Linked DNA regions of Homo sapiens: region 2 is linked to region 1. The links are contacts of gene promoters, found by promoter capture Hi-C in blood cells and fetal thymus (Javierre and others, 2016). All regions are on one chromosome and are shown on one strand. Each heading gives the region's core, a stretch centred on a gene start or on the middle of the fragment in contact. The rest is flanking DNA. Distances are from core to core; before and after follow the strand shown.

Region 1 (5,935 bases), core at 2,590-5,089:
CCCAGGGCCACAGTGGTCAGACTCTGCCAGGTCCCCAGGGAGGGTGCAGAGGACGGCCAGGAGCTGGTGCAGAGGGCACCAGCTATTCCGGGAACTGTCCAGAATGACTCTGCAGGAGTGTTCCACAGGCTCAGAGACTCATTTCCCTATGAGGCCCCTGGGGCAGAGTGATTCTGGGCCAGCTGTGGCTGACAGGCCTCAGAGGGGCTGATCTGGTCTTGGGTGGTTCTGGGGGCAAGGAGTAGTCTTAGGTTGGCCCTGGGAGTTTCCGAGCCACTTTAGGGACTTTGTTCTGCTTAAAGTGTATGAATTTCAAGGGGTGACTACTGAAGAAAAGGAAAGGCAATGGTCTTAGTCCAAATATATCCTCCAGTTTTTGATTGAAATCATTTGAGCCTCAAGGGTCTTCCAGCCTGGGGGCAGCTTTCCTGGTTCCACAGGATTGGACCTGCTAATGGTTCAGGCCTCTTCCATGCATTGCAGAGATTCTTTACTAGGAGAGTCCACTGGCTTCTCCTGCAGAGACTTCAAGAGGCTACAGTGCAGCCCAAGTGTGTGTGTGTATGATATATTATATATACATTATATGTTATATGCACATATTTTACACACACACACACACATAATTTTAAAGAATAGCCCAGATGATTCTGGTGCACAGCCCTGTATGAGAACCACAGCCTTCATTTGATATGCATACTTAGCTGTGATTTACTGGCTTTTGTTGCAATGGCAAAGGCTGGAACATTGGGATGTTCTGCCACTTATCTGGGGGGAAAATACTAGCCAGTCCTTGGCACACAGGGAAAATCTCCAGTTTCCCTGGAGTTTAGAACACAACTAAAGGCCTTGCTTTTAGGGCTCCCAAGAGTCACTAAGAGCCACATAGCGGCTTGAAAAATGCCCAGGTCTTCTCAGCATTGACCCAGTCTTGTCAATGCCTGATGAAGGGAGGGCATTTTCCATACCTTCGGTCTGACTCTAGGGTCCCATGAGTGGCAGCAGTGCCTGTGTGAAGGAAGCTGGAAAAAATGGCTCCTTTCAGGACCCAGCAACGAATCATGCTGTTACCCACTATGGGGCTTCTGGGGAAGCAGGTAGCTAGTAGCAGGAACACAGCTTCAGTCCCTACTCAGGACTCGCTCAGGTCCTCACAACTGGTGCTACACTCTGCCCTAATGGGGGTCCATTTGGCTCAGGAGGACTCATCCAGGGCACCCAGGGGTCTCTGCAGGAATTCTCTGCTGCACCTGCTAGGGCAGCATGAAGTAACAGCCTCCTTGTTTCCTTTGAGCAAACATCACATTGGGGAGGGCAGGATGCCCTTTTAATTTTCCTCTCGTAGCTTTGGCTCTGTAAGTAGAACTAAACATGGCCAGCAGGTGGCACCCAGGTCCTGAGCAAAAACTCCTTTAAATGTATCCCCCATCCCCCAAACCCCCTTTCCAGAGCTCAGTTTAGAGCTCAAATTGGGAGCCTCTAAAAGCTGGGCTGGCTGAGGGGCCTGGAGCATTGGGGCTGTTCTAAGATCCTGGACTGAACTAAGCCAGCCTCCGTATCCCCTAAAACCACAGTTTGAACTCACCAAAGAGGTCCAACTTCTGATTGGCTTTTGCATTGGGGGTTGACTTGGGCCTGGACTCACACCAGACCAGCTGCTGGGGGCAGAGGTGTATAAAGTATTTGCCCAAGCATCAGGGTCTAAGTGGACCAGCTGCCTCCAATTACAGCAAAGACATAACCTGCCAGGCGCGGTGGCTCACGCCTGTAATCCCAGCACTTTGGGAGGCCGAGGTGGGCGGATCATGAGGTCAGGAGATCCAGACCATCTTGGCTAACACGGTGAAACCCCGTCTCTACTAAAAATACAAAAAATTAGCCGGGCACAGTGGCGGGCACTTGTAGTCCCAGCTACTCAGGAGGCTGAGGCAGGAGAATGGCGTGAACCCGGGAGGCGGAGCTTGCAGTGAGCCAAGATAGCGCCACTGCACTCCAGCCTGGGCAAAAGAGCGACACTCCATCTTAAAAAAAAAAAAAAAAAAAAAGACATAACCTGACGAAACTCTTAATAATAACACACTTGTTCCCAAGAGCTCCTTCACCTCCCCGGAGAGAATGGTAGGTAGCCACTCGGAGGGGGCAGGCTCTGTCCCAAGAGATGTAGTAGCAGTGTCTTCCAACCCCATCCACATGTTTCTACCATGATCTTTGGCACATGTGACTGTCAGGAGAAACAGACCCTGATTGGATTGTGGCATGTCATCATCCAGGCGGATCCCCATTCGAGGATCAGACCGACAACGTGGCTTTGGGGAAAGCCTGCTCTGAAGGGCCTCGACTCCTGCTATCAGGAATGGAGCCAAGGGAAAGAAAAGTTGAGGAGGTTTAATCTGGTGATTTTGCTGAGTCATTTCCTATACTAGGACTGTAAGGTTCATGGTGCATTCACAGGCAACTGGGAAAGGCAATTACAGCTCTCATTGCGGGAGGGGAAGCTGCTGGTCATTCTGCAGACTGAGGCCTTAAAAATGGTCATCAAGACCAAATCCCACTAACCCATGGTCAGAAGGGTTTCTAGAGACCATCTGCTTCCTTCCCAGGCGATTAGGACTGCACTTAGATCTAGGCACTTATATTCTTAAATCATAAAGATGGCCAATAAGTCTGCACAACTGAAATTTCACATTCTATTATTTAATGACCTTATCACCAGCCTAAATCTAATTTTGGCTTTTTGTTTTTAAATCTGTCTTCCACAAATATGTCTTAAGGGTAATTTAGGGGCCCTCAGTCTTCTCTAATTCTCTAGAGCTCTTTTTACCCCAAGTTTAGCCCTGTTCTGGCTGGTCCCTGGAAGAACCCCCTGCAGTTTCCAGGCCTCCACCCTCTGCCCAGCGTGGCTATGAAAGACACACCAGGTCTACCAGTCCTGAAGGAGGTGGCCAGCATGCCTCCAGCAAGCTCCAGAAAGGTAGTGCTTAAGAACACTAGATCTCCAGGCACATCAGGTGGGTTCAAATCCTAGTTGTACCATGTCCTAGCTGTCTGACTTGACTTTAGGTCTCAGTGTCCTCATCTATAAAGTGAGGACAGTGACAGCTCCCACCTCACAGAACAGTTATGAGGATTAAGTGAGCCATGTGTACACAGTGCTGAGCACAGAGCCTGACATTCAGTATGTATTTGGCAAGTGCTGTCAGCATCGCGGGGACAGACAGTGAGAATCTAAGGGCATTTGTTCGAGGAGTAGGTGCCTGACACACAGCCAGCCTCTGGTCTCAGACCATGGAAATGCCAGTCCAGAAAGGAGACAGACTACAGAACTTTTCTCTGCTGCTTTGCCTTGAGACAGCCACATGGGCTTCCCAAAGCTGGGCTCTGACCACAATCCCTCCCCAGCTCCAGATTTCCCATATAGCCTGCTTTGTAGACGCCATCCTACCGGCCAAGACAACTGGAACAGATGCTGTGGGATCAGAAGAGAGAGAACTCCACAGAGCCAGCCAACACGTTTCCCGTTCCTGAAGTGGGACTATGCCCATTGTCACTGGGCTACCCCTTCCTGCCCAGGCCCGGGGGCTGAAGTCACCTGTTTGGAAAATCTGCAAAATTGCTACCCCTACCCCTGTGAGTCACACATCCAGGTTATTCTGGGCTTGCATGGAGGCAGTATGTGCAGGTGGGGCTGAGGGGTTCTGAGGGGCTGGGGAGCAAGCCAGCGGGTCACAAAGCCCTGGCAGACCTGGCCAATCACCTTCTTCTTATGGCTGAGCAAGGACCTGATTCATTGAGAGGCTCAGCCTCTCAAAGCTGGATTAATCAATGCAGAGACGGGGCAAGTGGAGTATTTGCAGGGTTGGCCTGGAGCCCAGCATGCGCCCCCTCCCACACATCCAGGACAGGGATCTGGACGGCTGTGGGTTCAGGTAGGGACTGAAACTCCTCCAGGATTTTGTTCTCACAACACTTTTAGGTCACAACTCTAAGACCCTGAGCCCTGCTGAAGTTCCAGCCACTGGGATCCTGGACATGTCCTGCTGAATAATGATCTGAACTCTTACTAAGGCTCTCCCCAGGCTGGTTGGGATAATGGTGCCACATCCCTGTAGCTGCTAGCCAGGGAAGGAGTCCTTGGGGTAGGTTCTGGCTAGGTCACCCTATCTGACCATAACTTCGAGGGTTAACGGAAACCCTGCAGTATAGTAAACAAAATTTCTCATCGCTAAAATCAATCCATTTCAGTAGGGTTCATCTAGGTGGGCAGATAGGCAATATTTTCTTTCTAAACGTTCTTTGCTGGAGATCTTTCAGTTCCTCAAACACCTACTTTTTAGGTCAACAAATGTCCATGGAGTCACCCATCAATCCAAGGCTCCCAGCAGAAGGCAGACAGTGTGACTTGGCTACAGGCTTTGCCATTCGCTGCCTGTGAGACACAAGCAAGTAGGCGAAGATATCCAAGCCTCAGTTCTCATGAAGCATCAGAATGATGGTATGATTGAGCATGGGGCTGTTGGAAGGATAATGAGTACCGCTGGCAGGAGCCAAAGGTTCACCATCACGCTGCTTTGGGGGCTGAGCAACCTTTACTGATAGGCAAGATCACTGACATAGACATATCTGACTCAACATCTTCTTTCCTGCACCCTGACCCAATTCCCACAGACCCTCTGATCAGGGTCCTGAGCAGGGAGAGAGTAGGGACAGCCTTGGGTATCCACTCTCTGCTGCCTCAGGCAGAAAGACAGAGCTGTGCTTTTGAAGCTATGTTGCCCATTTCTTCCCTCAATTAGTACTGGCTCAGGGCTCAGTGCACAATAGCTTCTCAGTACCTATATATTTATTGAATGAATGAATGAATGAATGGGAGAGGTTAAACTAGGGTTTGGGGGGTTCAGATGGCAGGTGGACTCAGAAAGTGTGGTTTTCTGCTTTTATTTCTTGTTTGTTGACCCTGAGGAGGTGCCACTGGCTACATGGAGAAGCAAGGAGAGGAGAATGCTAGCTGCACTCCCTGGCTACACGCAAACAGATGCAGCACGAAGCCTTGGGAACCTTGGCAAGGGATTTAAACAGTCTCCCTCTAATGCATATAACATGGTGCTGCTGGATTTCCCAGAACAGGATTTTAAGATGGTTCCGAGAGTGGAACCTGGTAACTCCTGGGAGCACCTCTCTGCTTGGTCTGCTCTGGGGGTGGGCTGCTGGCCCATCTGTGGCTAGCCTCAGGATAGAGGGAAGGGAGCTGCAGCAGCTGCCATGACGTGTTGGGAAGGGAACTGTCATGTTTGCAGCAGCCCTGGTGGGTCTGATGTTTTTTTAATTATCCTTCAAGTTCCAAAAGCACATCCATGTCTCTGGGGACACATAACAAGCCATGTCACTTTATGTTCCTTTGGAACTATGTCTCTTTGGACTGTCTGGCTTATAGTTGTTGTTCAGGGCCAAGTGATGTGTCACCCTTCTCTGAAATGTCTGCATCCTGTGAATTGTTTAGCCTACTTTCCCCTGACCCCAGGCTCAGGCCCCTCTTCTCTGCTCTCACCATACCTTTCACCCCACATCCAGTCCCCTCCCAAAATCCTCCCAGTTTTACTTCTGTGCCCTTTTGAGAGGGCACAGTCATTTATACTTTAAGCTTTCCACCAGAAAGTCGGATGCTGAAGATGTCCAGGACAAACTTAAGTTTCAGTGTTTGTTGAACTCTCTGTGCCCTCTCCAGTAGACTGCCTTTCCTCATGCCCTCAGACTCTACTCTACCTGCCTGTTCTGCAGGACTAACCCCACGTGGAGACAGTCAGCCCCCACCCCAGTGGGGACATGCACTGGAGAGCTTCCAGAAGGCCTGCAGATAGCTTCTCTCCTGCCCTACCATAGTGCCCGAAATTCCCACCAGAAATGCCACTCTTGTGGATTACAGCATCCAGCTCCAGAA
Region 2 (5,522 bases), core at 2,039-4,538, 220 kb after region 1:
AAATTAGCCAGACGTGGTGGTGGGTGCCTGTAATCTCGGCTACTCAGGAGGCTGAGGCAGGAGAATCACTTGAACCCGGGAGGCAGAGGTTGCAGTGAGCCGAGATTGCGCCACTGCACCCCAGCCTGGGCCACACACCCCACCCAGCCTGGGCGACAAGAGCAAAGCTCCGTCTATATAAAAAAACAACAGGATAACAATTATCCTTGGCAGAGTAAGTATTGACTAGAACGGGGCAGGATTCTGAGATGCATTGATTTCAGTTTGTGAAAACTAATTGAGCTGTAAAATTGTAATCTGTATACATTTGTGTTTTTGGTATGTATGTTATACTTTAATTAGAAAATCTTTTAAAAAGAATGGAGCTTTTCAGTTCCTGTAAACAGCATTAAAATAAATCCAAAGAATATAAAATAGAATAAAACTCTAATGCTGCTCAAAGTATATTACTAGGTTGGTGCAAAAGTAATTGCGGTTGTTGCCATTGAAAGTAATGGCAAAAAAAAAAAAAAAAAGTAGGTGCCATCTGGCTTTTAAAAATTTGTAATTGTGACACAGTGCGTCATATGGTATGTAGGGAGAACTCTAACCATGTTTTTCCTCACTCTCACAGCACAACAATCATCCATGCAGAAGATTTCTGTGACCAAACGTTGGAGGTGATTTCCCCATACACCAAGCAGTGGACACCAGCTGGGTGTCCTCTAATTCATTTCTGACACTGTCTACCCAGAGATGGCATCAGATCCCACACGTTGAGGGTTCAGTCCCCAAGACTGCCCACCCACCAAAACCGGTCACAAGTCTGGGCCTCTAGGACTGGCTTCAAGTTGGGGTTCCCATGACCCCCTCTTTGATTAATTTGGTGGAGTGGCTCACAGAGCTCAGGGAAACACATTTACCAGTTTGTTACAAAAAATATTACAAAGGATACAGATGGCTGGGCGCGGTGGCTCACACCTGTAATCCCAGCACTTTGGGAGGCTGAGGCGGATTACCTGAGGTCAGGAGTTCAAGACCAGCCTGGCCAACATGGCGAAACCCCGCCTCTACTAAAAATACAAAAATTAGCCGGGTGTAGTGGCCCACGCCTATAATCCCAGCTACTTGGGAGGCTGAGGCAGGAGAATTGCTTGAACCTGGGAGGCGGAGGTTGCAGTGAGCCAAGATCGCGCCACTGCACTCCAGCCTGGGTGACAGAGTGAGACTCTGTCTAAAAAAAAAAAAAATGAAAAATAAAAAATAAAAAAAATGCATGAAAAACATAAAAAAAGGAAACAGATGAAGAGACACGTGGGGTGAGGTATGGGGAATGCACACAGAGCTTCTAAGCCCTCCGTGGGGGGTGGGGGGTGTGGGGGGCGCCACCCTCCAGGAACCTCCCCGAGTTCAGGTATCGGGAACCTCCCTGAACCGTCCTCAAGGGTTTTTATGGAAGCTTCAGGACCTCCGCATTCTTTCCCCCAGGGTATAGAGGGAACCTCTCTGGGTAGGATCTTAAGACCCACAATCTGAAAGCCTGAGAAAGATTAGAGGCCTGTCTTGGGGCAGGTGAAAGGAGGGCAGGAGAAGGAGAGATTCTGTTTCCTGAGGCCTAACACATACCCAATATTACAACAAAAGAACTAACAACGGCTATAGCAGTTATGAGCCCGGAACTGTGGACGAAAACCAATGTCTATCATAACACCACATGTGGTATAGTAGACATCTGTTATTTTTGTCTGCCCTGTCTACATTCTCTCTTACCTGTTAAGAAGCCTCAAATTTCCTTGGGAAACCACTTGTATTAGTTTCCTATTGCTGCTGTAACAAATTAGCAACAACTCAGTGGCTTAGATAAAACACAAATTTATTCTTACAGTTCTGTAGTTTAGAAGTCTGACACAAGTTTCGCTGGGCTAAAAATCAAGGTATCGGCAGGCCTGTTTTCTTCTCTGGAGTTTCTAAAAGAAAATCCGCTTCCTTGCCTCTTCGCTGCTAGAAGCCACCTAGACTCGTCAGTCTGTGATCTCTCCCTCCATCTTCAATGCCAGCAATGTTGCATCTGCCTGACCATTCTCCTACTCCTATCTCTAACACACTTCTCTCTCACTCTTCCATTTTTAATGGCACTTGTGATTACATTGGGCCCACCCAAAATTCCAAGGTACTCTCCCCATTTTTTGCTTTGTCCTTTTTTTCTTCTAAATCTCCCTATTTTAATGTCAGCTGATTAGCACTCTTAATTCCCCTTTGCCATGTGACATGCCAAATTTACAGGTTCTGAAGGCCTGCCTGAAAGTGACACTAACAGAAGCAGCAAAGGGTGAAGAGAGAGACCAAATCTCATGACTTTGTTACAGCCCTTCGATTTGACTGTAGCGAAACCAGAAATGTCTCTGGGCTTTTCAGTTATATGAACCTTCTCCTCTTAAGTCAGTTTGAGTTGGGGTCCCCAAACTTGCAAATGAGAGTCTTGATTGTTATATATGACAGCATGTGTTATGTTTGATGTTGAATACATTTAAGTTATTTTTGTTTTATTTTAATGGCAATAAGTAATGATGAGTATGGGAATATCAAGAGACACATCAAACTTCAACTTCCAGTAATGGTAGAAAAGGTCATTGGGACCACTCTCCTATCAAAGAAAACTGAAAAAGTTGGAGATCGCACCACTGCACTCCAGCCTCGGTGACAGAGCGAGACTCTGACTCAGAAAAAAAAAAAAAAAAATCCATACTGAAGACACATCAAAATGACATTGCAGAGCCAGCCGGGCATGATACAATGGTCAGAGTTGGGGATCCTGACTTTGCTCAGCGGCAGTGGTACAGTTCAATGCAATGGTGGCAGGGCTATGCTTCCAGCAGAGCAGCAGTGGGGGTGGGCACTGGGAGCTTCCTGATCTTTGGGCAGCATCCTCTTCTCTTTGGCTCAACCAGCCTTCCTGACATTACTATAGTCAACCCCTTCCACCAAATCCCTTTTTGCTTAAAATATCTGGAGTTATTTCTGTTTTTTTTTTTTAAGTGAATGCTGACTGATTGGAATACTATAAAAAAGAAACATTACCAAAATAAGGAGTTAATTGGATATTAAAAACATGAAATCAGAAATAAAAAATTCAATTGAAAGGTTAGAAAAGAATGTTGATGAAATCACCCTGAAAGTAGGGAAAAACAAAATAAAAAAATAAAACAGGGGCGTGGTGGCGAGCATCTATAGTTCAAGATACTTGGGAGGGCGAGGTGGGAGGATTGCTTGAGCCCAGGAGTTTGAGGCTGCAACGAGCTATGATTGCTCCACTGCATTCCAGCCTGGGTGACAGAGCGAGACCCCCCTTTCTCTCAAAAATAAATATGGCCAGGCCTGGTGGCTCACACCTGTAATCCCAGCACTCTGGGAGACTGAGTCAAGCAGATTGCTTGAGTTCAGGAGTTCGAAACCAGCTTAGGCAACACGGCAAAGCCTTGCCCCTACAAAAAATAAAATTAAATTAAAAATTAAAAAAATAATAATAAAAAAATACATAAAACAAAAACCCAGCCAGGCACAGTGGCTCACGCCTGTAATCCCAACACTTTGGGAGGCTGAGGCCCACAGATCACTTGAGGTCAGGAGTTCAAGACCAGCCTGGCCAACATGGTGAAACCCTGTCTCTACAAAAATACAAAAATTAGCCAGGCATGATGGTGGATGCCTGTAATCCCAGCTACTAGGGAGGCTGAGACAGGAGAATCATTTGAACCCAGGAGGCGGAGCTTGCAGTGAGCTGAGATGGCACTACTGCACTCCAGCCTGGGCGACAGACAGAGTCTCGGGAAAAAAAAAATTATTAAACAATAGAACTTGGTGCATCTCTTTAATCTGTCTCTGAACTCAGTTGACTGACACATCATTATTAGTAGTCTGCCCTCACTAATCATTTTCATCACATACAGATCTCATATCTTTGGGTGACACTTCCCATGTCTCTGGAAATCTTTTAAATTGCTTTCAGTTACAACAGAAGGGCAAGGTTTTCATCTAGTCATACTCTACTCCACCAGAGGCAAAACCACCTCCCTTAATTATCTTGTTTAAATTGTGGCTGTTCGCCCCGTCCGGGAGGTGAGGGGTGCCTCTGCCCGGCCGCCCCTACTGGGAAGTGAGGAGCCCCTCTGCCCGGCCAGCCGCCCCCTCCGGGAGGGAGGAGGAGGGGTCAGCCCCCCGCCCGGCCAGCCGCCCCGTCCGGGAGGTGAGGGGCGCCCCTGCCCGGCCACCCCTTCTGGGAAGTGAGGAGCCCCTCTGCCCAGCCACCACCCCATCTGGGAGGTGTACCCAACAGCTCACTGAGAACGGGCCATGATGACAATGGCGGTTTTGTGGAATAGAAAGGGGGGAAAGGTGGGGGAAAGATTGAGAAATCGGATGGTTGCCGTGTCTGTGTAGAAAGAAGTAGACATGGGAAACTTTTCATTTTGTTCTGTACTAAGAAAAATTCTTCTGCCTTGGGATCCTGTTGATCTGTGACCTTACCCCCAACCCTGTGCTCTCTGAAACATGTGCTGTGTCCACTCAGGGTTAAATGGATTAAGGGCGGTGCAAGATGTGCTTTGTTAAACAGATGCTTGAAGGCAGCATGCTCATTAAGAGTCATCACCACTCCCTAATCTCAAGTACCCAGGGACACAAACACTGCGGAAGGCCGCAGGGTCCTCTGCCTCGGAAAACCAGAGACCTTTGTTCACTTGTTTATCTGCTGACCTTCCCTCCACTATTGTCCTATGACCCTGCCAAATCCCCCTCTGCGAGAAACACCCAAGAATGATCAATAAAAAAAAAGACTCCATCTCAAAAAAAAAAAAAAGAAAAAAAAATTGTGGCTGTTTGCAAACAAATAAAGAACTTATTTTTAACACACAAAAAGTACAGTATAATCTCTATGCTGTAACAGTAAGTCCATTTTCATTAAATATTTTGATTTTTATTATCTCTCTACAAAGAAACTACAAAAATACCCATAAAAGCATCGAAAATGTACTTTAAAATTCTGAACTGTTATGATACATCTTCTATGATTTACAAGAGTAAAATGTTAAATTCTCCAAGTTAGAATTTCTGAATTGATTTTGACAGGAATTTACTAGAAGTAACCAGAACATCAAAGCTTACAGGTTTTCTATTCATCCCCAATTAAGTTTCTGAAAAGCTACACATCCGTTGACAAGCACAGTCCACTCAGTTACATGATGCTGCCACTAATGGTGAGGCTACTCTGAAGGGCAGAGGTCTATATGATGGAAATGCCCAGCCTTCCAGGCAACTGCTCAAAGTGGTCTTATTTTTTCCCTTATGTGTAAAATAAAAGTACAAATGTACATATGGTAAAAAATGTAAATATTACAGAAAGAGCTAAAATAATAAGTACATAGCCTTTTCTCCCATACCACAGCAAATCTGATGTTTTCAAAATCCTCAAATAGTCACATGAGTAACTCACAAACTAAAGTCAACCTTGGAGTCTCTTTATCTGAAAATTATTTTCAGGCCTTTGG

The links. The method cuts DNA at HindIII sites, captures the fragments that hold promoters and counts their contacts. A CHiCAGO score of 5 or more calls a contact.
Region 2: a fragment that was not itself captured here is called in contact with the fragment with the promoter of MAPRE3-AS1 in region 1 in 1 of 17 cell types (endothelial precursors); the score reaches 5.9 in endothelial precursors.

Annotation. Positions count from the first base shown.
Region 1 is chr2:27,012,492-27,018,426 of GRCh38, reverse strand. It overlaps MAPRE3-AS1 (MAPRE3 antisense RNA 1), which reads left to right and starts at 3,839. Exons shown (of 6, transcript NR_149018.1): 1 at 3,839-3,926. The region is part of intron 1 of MAPRE3 (microtubule associated protein RP/EB family member 3); the gene reads right to left. The HindIII fragment of the contact is 5,889 bases long and covers 1-5,640 here.
Region 2 is chr2:26,793,997-26,799,518 of GRCh38, reverse strand. CENPA (centromere protein A) reads right to left here. Exons shown (of 5, transcript NM_001809.4): 5 at 4,930-5,522. Among named protein-coding and RNA genes, the nearest start is that of CENPA, 11 kb to the right of the region's middle. RefSeq lists a silencer at 4,612-4,812. The HindIII fragment of the contact is 3,696 bases long and covers 1,441-5,136 here.